2 separate regions of the Homo sapiens genome follow, and region 2 is linked to region 1. The links are contacts of gene promoters, found by promoter capture Hi-C in human tissues and cell types (Jung and others, 2019). All regions are on one chromosome and are shown on one strand. Each heading gives the region's core, a stretch centred on a gene start or on the middle of the fragment in contact. The rest is flanking DNA. Distances are from core to core; before and after follow the strand shown.

Evidence for each region. Contacts are between HindIII fragments. The study calls those that stand out against the background at their distance.
Region 2: a fragment that was not itself captured here is called in contact with the fragment with the promoter of TRPV4 in region 1 in 1 of the 25 tissues and cell types used here (pancreas).

Annotation. Positions count from the first base shown.
Region 1 is chr12:109,832,148-109,834,872 of GRCh38, reverse strand. TRPV4 (transient receptor potential cation channel subfamily V member 4) reads left to right here and starts at 1,475. Exons shown (of 16, transcript NM_021625.5): 1 at 1,475-1,523. It overlaps MIR4497 (microRNA 4497), which reads right to left and starts at 1,525; the gene lies at 1,437-1,525. The HindIII fragment of the contact is 21,611 bases long and covers 1-2,725 here.
Region 2 is chr12:109,772,386-109,775,187 of GRCh38, reverse strand. FAM222A-AS1 (FAM222A antisense RNA 1) reads left to right here and starts at 1,701. Exons shown (of 3, transcript NR_026662.2): 1 at 1,701-1,891. RefSeq lists an enhancer at 2,613-2,802. The HindIII fragment of the contact is 4,400 bases long and covers 1-2,802 here.

The DNA of each region.
Region 1 (2,725 bases), core at 226-2,725:
AAAGGGCTCTGCACAGCCTGGATGCTCCCAGCATCTTCACTGCGACTGTGAGGTGAGGACTTTTGTATGCCCCACTCTACAGGGGGATGTAGAGGCACTGAGGCACAAAGGTGAAGGGACTTGCATAGGGCTGCTGGGTTAGAGAGTCACAGAGCCAAGCTGTGGGCCTGCTAGGCTTTCCAACCACCCTGGAGGAAGTGAGCTGCCCATCCTGTGGAGGTATTCAAGTGGACTCAGTGCTGGGTAGAGGGTATGGCTATGTGTTGGGGCCCACCTTTGTTATCTGATAAAAGAAAATACATGGGTAGGTGTGGTGGCTCATGCCTATACTCTCAGTGCTTTGGGAGACTGAAGTGGGAGGATCACTTGAGGCCAGGAGTTGTAGACCGGCTGCCCTCCCCCACCCCCCCTTCTACAAAAAAATAAAAATTAGTGGGGTGTGGTGGCGCATGCCTGTACTCCCAGCTGCTCAGGAGGCTGAGGTGGGAGGATCTCTTGAGGCCAGGAGTTTGAGGCTGTAGTGAGCCGTGATCATGCCACTGCACTTCAACCTGGGTGACAAAGGGAGAACATGTATCAAAAATAATAATAATAATAAAAAAAATAAACAAAAACGCATTGAGCCAGGCACGGTGACTCAGACCTCTAATCCCAGCACTTTGGGAGGCCGAGGTGGGTAGATCGCTTGAGCCTGGAGTTTGAGACCAGCCTAGGCAACATAGTGAGACCCTATCTCTGCAAAAAATTTAAATAAAATTAGCCAAGCATGGTGGTAGGCGTCTGTGGTCTCAGTTACTAGGGAGGCTGATACGGGAGGATTGCTTGAACGCTGGTGGTTGAGGCTGCAGTGATTCCTGATCACGCCACCGCACTCCAGCCTGGGCAACAGAGTGAGACCCTGTCTCAAAAACAACAGCAACAAAACATTGATGGCCTACTCCGAGGCAGGCTTCGCAGTAAGCACTGGGTGAAGACCAAGGAGAGCAGCTCACATTTATTTACCCCTGAACCATCTCTATGGGCCATACCCGAGGGTAGGGACCTCCTTCAACGCCTCGGAGGAAATTGTCTGCTGAATGAATGAATGAGCAAACACGTGGAGGACTGGGCCGGGACGCCCATTTAGAGACTAGGACACAGTCCCAGGGCGGCCCGAAGTCACGGAGCAAGATCGAATCGGAGCCGATTCCAACTAGAGCCCTCTCCAAAGACCGTCTGCCGCTCTATCCGGGGATCGCGACACCCATTTTCCAGGCGAGGAAACTGAGGCCCTGGCCCTGCACCTCCCCCGCAGGGGAGGCCCTCGCTGGGCGGGCGGGGTGCGAGTAGGGGCCGCCCCTTCTAGGGCCTGCGCTCGGCGGGGTCCGCGAGCCGGCGGGTGGGCGGGGAGCTGGCCGGGGGCGGCGCGCGGCTGGAACCTGAGCCGGCGGAGGAGGGACCCGCGGGCGGACGGGCGCCGGGCGGGCCGGCCGGGATTCAGGAAGCGCGGATCTCCCGGCCGCCGGCGCCCAGCCGTCCCGGAGGTAAGTGGGGCCCGGGCCCGGGAGGGGCGGCTCAGCCGAGGTCCCCTCGCGCCCCTGGGGACATCTCCGTGGCCCGTCCGGCTCCGGGGGGTCCCGAGGCTCCAAAATGCGGGCCAGGGGCGCGGGAGACGGAAGGCACCAGGTTCCGCAGGCGCCAGCCTCTCAGCTAAGTGCCCTTGGGCCGGACACCGGCTCTTTGGGTCTCGGTTTTATCACCTGTGAAATGGGCACCAACGTGGGGCCTGGGGTAGCAGGTCTGGGGGGAGGGCGGTTCGGTTCCCTGAGACCCCAAGCCAGGGAACCAAAGGCCCGGAGCCTTGCAGCCCACCTTAGGAGACTTGGAAGAGGGATTTCGGGGGACCTAAGGTTTGCCCTTGGCCCCTGAGCATGTCGGAGGGAATTTGGAGTCTGGAGCTTCCAAAGGCTTCTTCTTGGTTACTGAGTCCCGGAGAGACGGCTGTTTCCTCCAAGAGGCATGAAAATCTTTAACCTCTAGTTCTGCCCTGGACTCTCAGGACGTCCCGGGGGCGGGTGGCTCCTGGGGGTGGGTAGCGGGGGTGGGGGTGGGGGAGAGAGAGACTCCCACACTCCCCGCTTGCCTGGAAACACCAACCACAGATGCATTCATCGAGCCACCCACTGCTCCAGCCTGCCCCAGCTGTTCCCTCTGTCTGTCCTCTCTGTTTTGCAGATGGGGAAACTGAGGCTTAGGTCGGGGATCTAGACAATTGGGATTTAAACCCAGGGACTATCCAGCCCCAAAGCCCTTCCCACCACACCAGGTGGCCTGTCCTGGGGCCAGCTCTGCACACAGGGCCTGGTGCCCCCGGGGTGCTTGGGAAGTGGCAGGGCAGAGGTGGGCCCTGTGGCTGTTCTGGCTCAGCTTCTAAAACAAGAGCCTCTGCTGGGGGCAGAGGGGCCGTGAACCCCTGAAATGTTAGGCAGATACCCTGTGGGAGCTTTGTTCTGGGATGCTAAGAACCGCTTGAGGATTTAAGCTTTGCCACTTTGGCTCCGGAGCAAGGGCAGAGGGTAAGTCGGGACTCCCCGGGCTCCTGAGGAGGGTGACGAGGTGGGCTTTTGGGGGAACAAGGGTAGAAAGGTCAGGCCTGGGTTATCTGCGGGGCTAAGAGCGGGCCTGTGTGGGGCCCGGGGTGTGCTCTGCAGTCCCCTGCTGTGTGACCTTGGCCTGGTCCCTTAGC
Region 2 (2,802 bases), core at 114-2,613, 60 kb after region 1:
AGAGTACTCACCCCTACTTCTCAAATGTGGCTTCTTCCTCTTCCCTGAGGGCCTTCCCCTTCTTTTGTGCCTAATTCAATATGAGGGACAGGACCAGTTAGGGCGTACTAGAAATGAGACCCAGCCACCCAGGTCAGGGTTGGGTTCCAGTCCTTGCTCTGCCACAAACTCATTATGAGTCCTTGCAGTGTAATTGGGGAAACTGAGGTCCAGAGAGGAGAAAGGACTTACCCAGTTTCCCCAATTGCAATACAAGAGGCAGGACTCAGCATTTCCTGAAGTCTTGTTTGTTCCATGGGGTGTAAATAGGTGGAAACAAAAACTTAGGTGGTCAAAAAAGTTAGGGAAATGCTGGGTTAAAGCTAAAAGGGGGCTGGGCGTGGTGGCTCATGCCTGTAATCCCAGCACTTTGGGAGGCCTTCAAGGCAGGCAGATCACTTGAGGTCAGGAGTTTGAGACCAGCCTGGTCAACATGGCAAAACCCCATCTCTACTAAAAATACAAAAATTAGCCAGGTGTAGTGGAGCATGCCTGTAATCCCAGCTAATCAGGAGGCTGAGGCAGGAGAACCACTTGAACCTGGAAGGCAGAGGTTACAGTGAGCCGAGACTGTGCCACTGCAAAGAAGTTAAAAGGGAATCTTGCCTGCAGGATCTGTTAGCATCTTTAATATGTTAATGCGATTTGTGTATCTCCAAGAGCCGGGATAGGCATCTGTTTCTCAAACTCTTTTGACTGGGAAACCCACTTTCCAAGGTGACTTGGAAGTCAGCTGCACTAGGCAAGGATGGGAATACTCCACCTTTGTTATATGTCTTTTACCTAATGGCTCTGTGCTACCCAGGGGATTTGACCACCTGTCTCCTAAGTTAAACCTCACATGGTACATACATTAAAATATTAGCCTCATTTTATTTTATGAGACGAGGTCTTGTTCTGTTGCCCAGGCTGTAGTGCAGTGGTGCGATCATGGCTCACTGCAGCCTTGACCTCCTGGGCTCAAGTGATCCTCCCACCTCAGCCTTCTGAGTATCTGGGACTACAGGCACACACTACACCCAGCTAATCTTAAAATTGTTTGTACAGATAGGGGTCTCGTGATACTGCCCAAGCTGGTCTTGAACTCCTGGGCTCAAGTGATCCTCCAGCCTTTGCTTCCCAAAGTGCTGGGATTACAGGTATGAGCCACAGCTCCCCGTTGGAGCCTCATTTTACAGTTGGGAAATAGATGACTCAGGAGTGATCACTTGCCTGAGGTCACACACACCTGCACACAGCCTCAGGATGGAACGAGTTCTGACCCTCAGACAACTACATCCCACAGCACTCAGAGGGGTCCTCTTACAGGACGAATCTGCCCTATCATCCTGACCACACATCACCTGATGCCACCTCACTCCTCCAGGTGCCACCACTTCCTTCAACAGATCTGGAAATTGAGGCTCAGAGAGGCACACAAGTCACCCAGGGTCACACGTGGAGTCAGTGGGATACTAAGTTCCGTTTTCTTGCCTCCTCCCCTCCCCCTGCCACTCGCTGGCGAGCTGGTGATGGTGGCAATTTAAACAGAAAACCTTTCGTCCCTTGCTCTCACCTATCGCGCTGGCTGGACTCCACCTTCTCCGGCCAACGTTGGGGGTGGGACGGGGTGTGGGCCCTTTAAGAGCGCCCGGGAGGGATGGGCAGGCGCAGTGGTGCTGGGCACACGTGGAGCTGCGCGTGGAGGAGTCCAGGCTGCAGCCGAGGGAGCTGAGTAGGGCAAAGTTAGGAGTCGCTGTTTGGATGGCAAGTTCAGAAGTTGGAACTTGTCTCAGTTTCCCCGCTCCAGAAATGGGGTTGTGATATAAAGACAGGGATATGAGTGAAGAAAACACAGAGCCACCCTGGAAAGGTGAGTGTCTACTAACATAGCTTCCTCTATCCAAATCTGCGCCTGAGCCCCCGTGGCCTTCTGGGGCAGCTCTGATCTCTCTGTAAGGTCACCTGTCTCTGACCTGGGGTGATCTTCTAATGGTCACTATGACAGGAAGTGATAGCCGAGGTTTTCTGCACACCAGGCTACCGTATTGGACAGCTCCGTGGTAAAGGGTGTGAGCCCAGGACAGCTAAGTAGAGAGAGAAGGATCCTAGTGTCAGAACAGAGACCTAGAGAAGGACTGCAGCTCCTGCCCGGGGCCTGGATGAGATGGTGGCTTCTCCTCTCTTTCTCCCTCACCCACCGGGATGTCTGGGCAGTTGGGGCTCTGGGATCCAAGGCTGTGCCTGGGTTCTGGAGCCAAATTGGCCACATTTGGCGGTTGACAGTTGTTTTCTATTCTCTGCAAAGGGTTGCAGCTGGGAACTAGGACTCAGAATCAGACAGGCCTGTGTTCTATCCCAGCCACTTCTCCATTCTTCATCCTCAGCTGTGTGACTTTGGGCAAAGTGATTGCCCTTCTGTGGGTCTCACTAACCTTGTCTGTAATGTGGGTGCATGCACCTCTGTTGCGCCGAGTGGTTGTGAGGCACAAGTAACGTTTAGCCCCGAGCCTGGTATCTGGTCTGCCTGTAGTTAAGTGTGGGATCTCAGTAATTGTAGCAGTGATAGCAATGCTTTCGTCACCTGTCCTCCCCCCATCAATGTGGTAATCAAAGGTGATTGATTGTATAAAGAAACCATGCTAGAATGGCCACCGGAGGGCACTTTGAGATCAGCCAGCCCAGTTCCTAGATGGGGAAACTGAGGCCCAAGGAGGCACAGGTAGTCAGGGCTAGAGCCCCAGCTGGGTTCCTGGGCCCAGACCCAGACTGTGCCATGCGCCC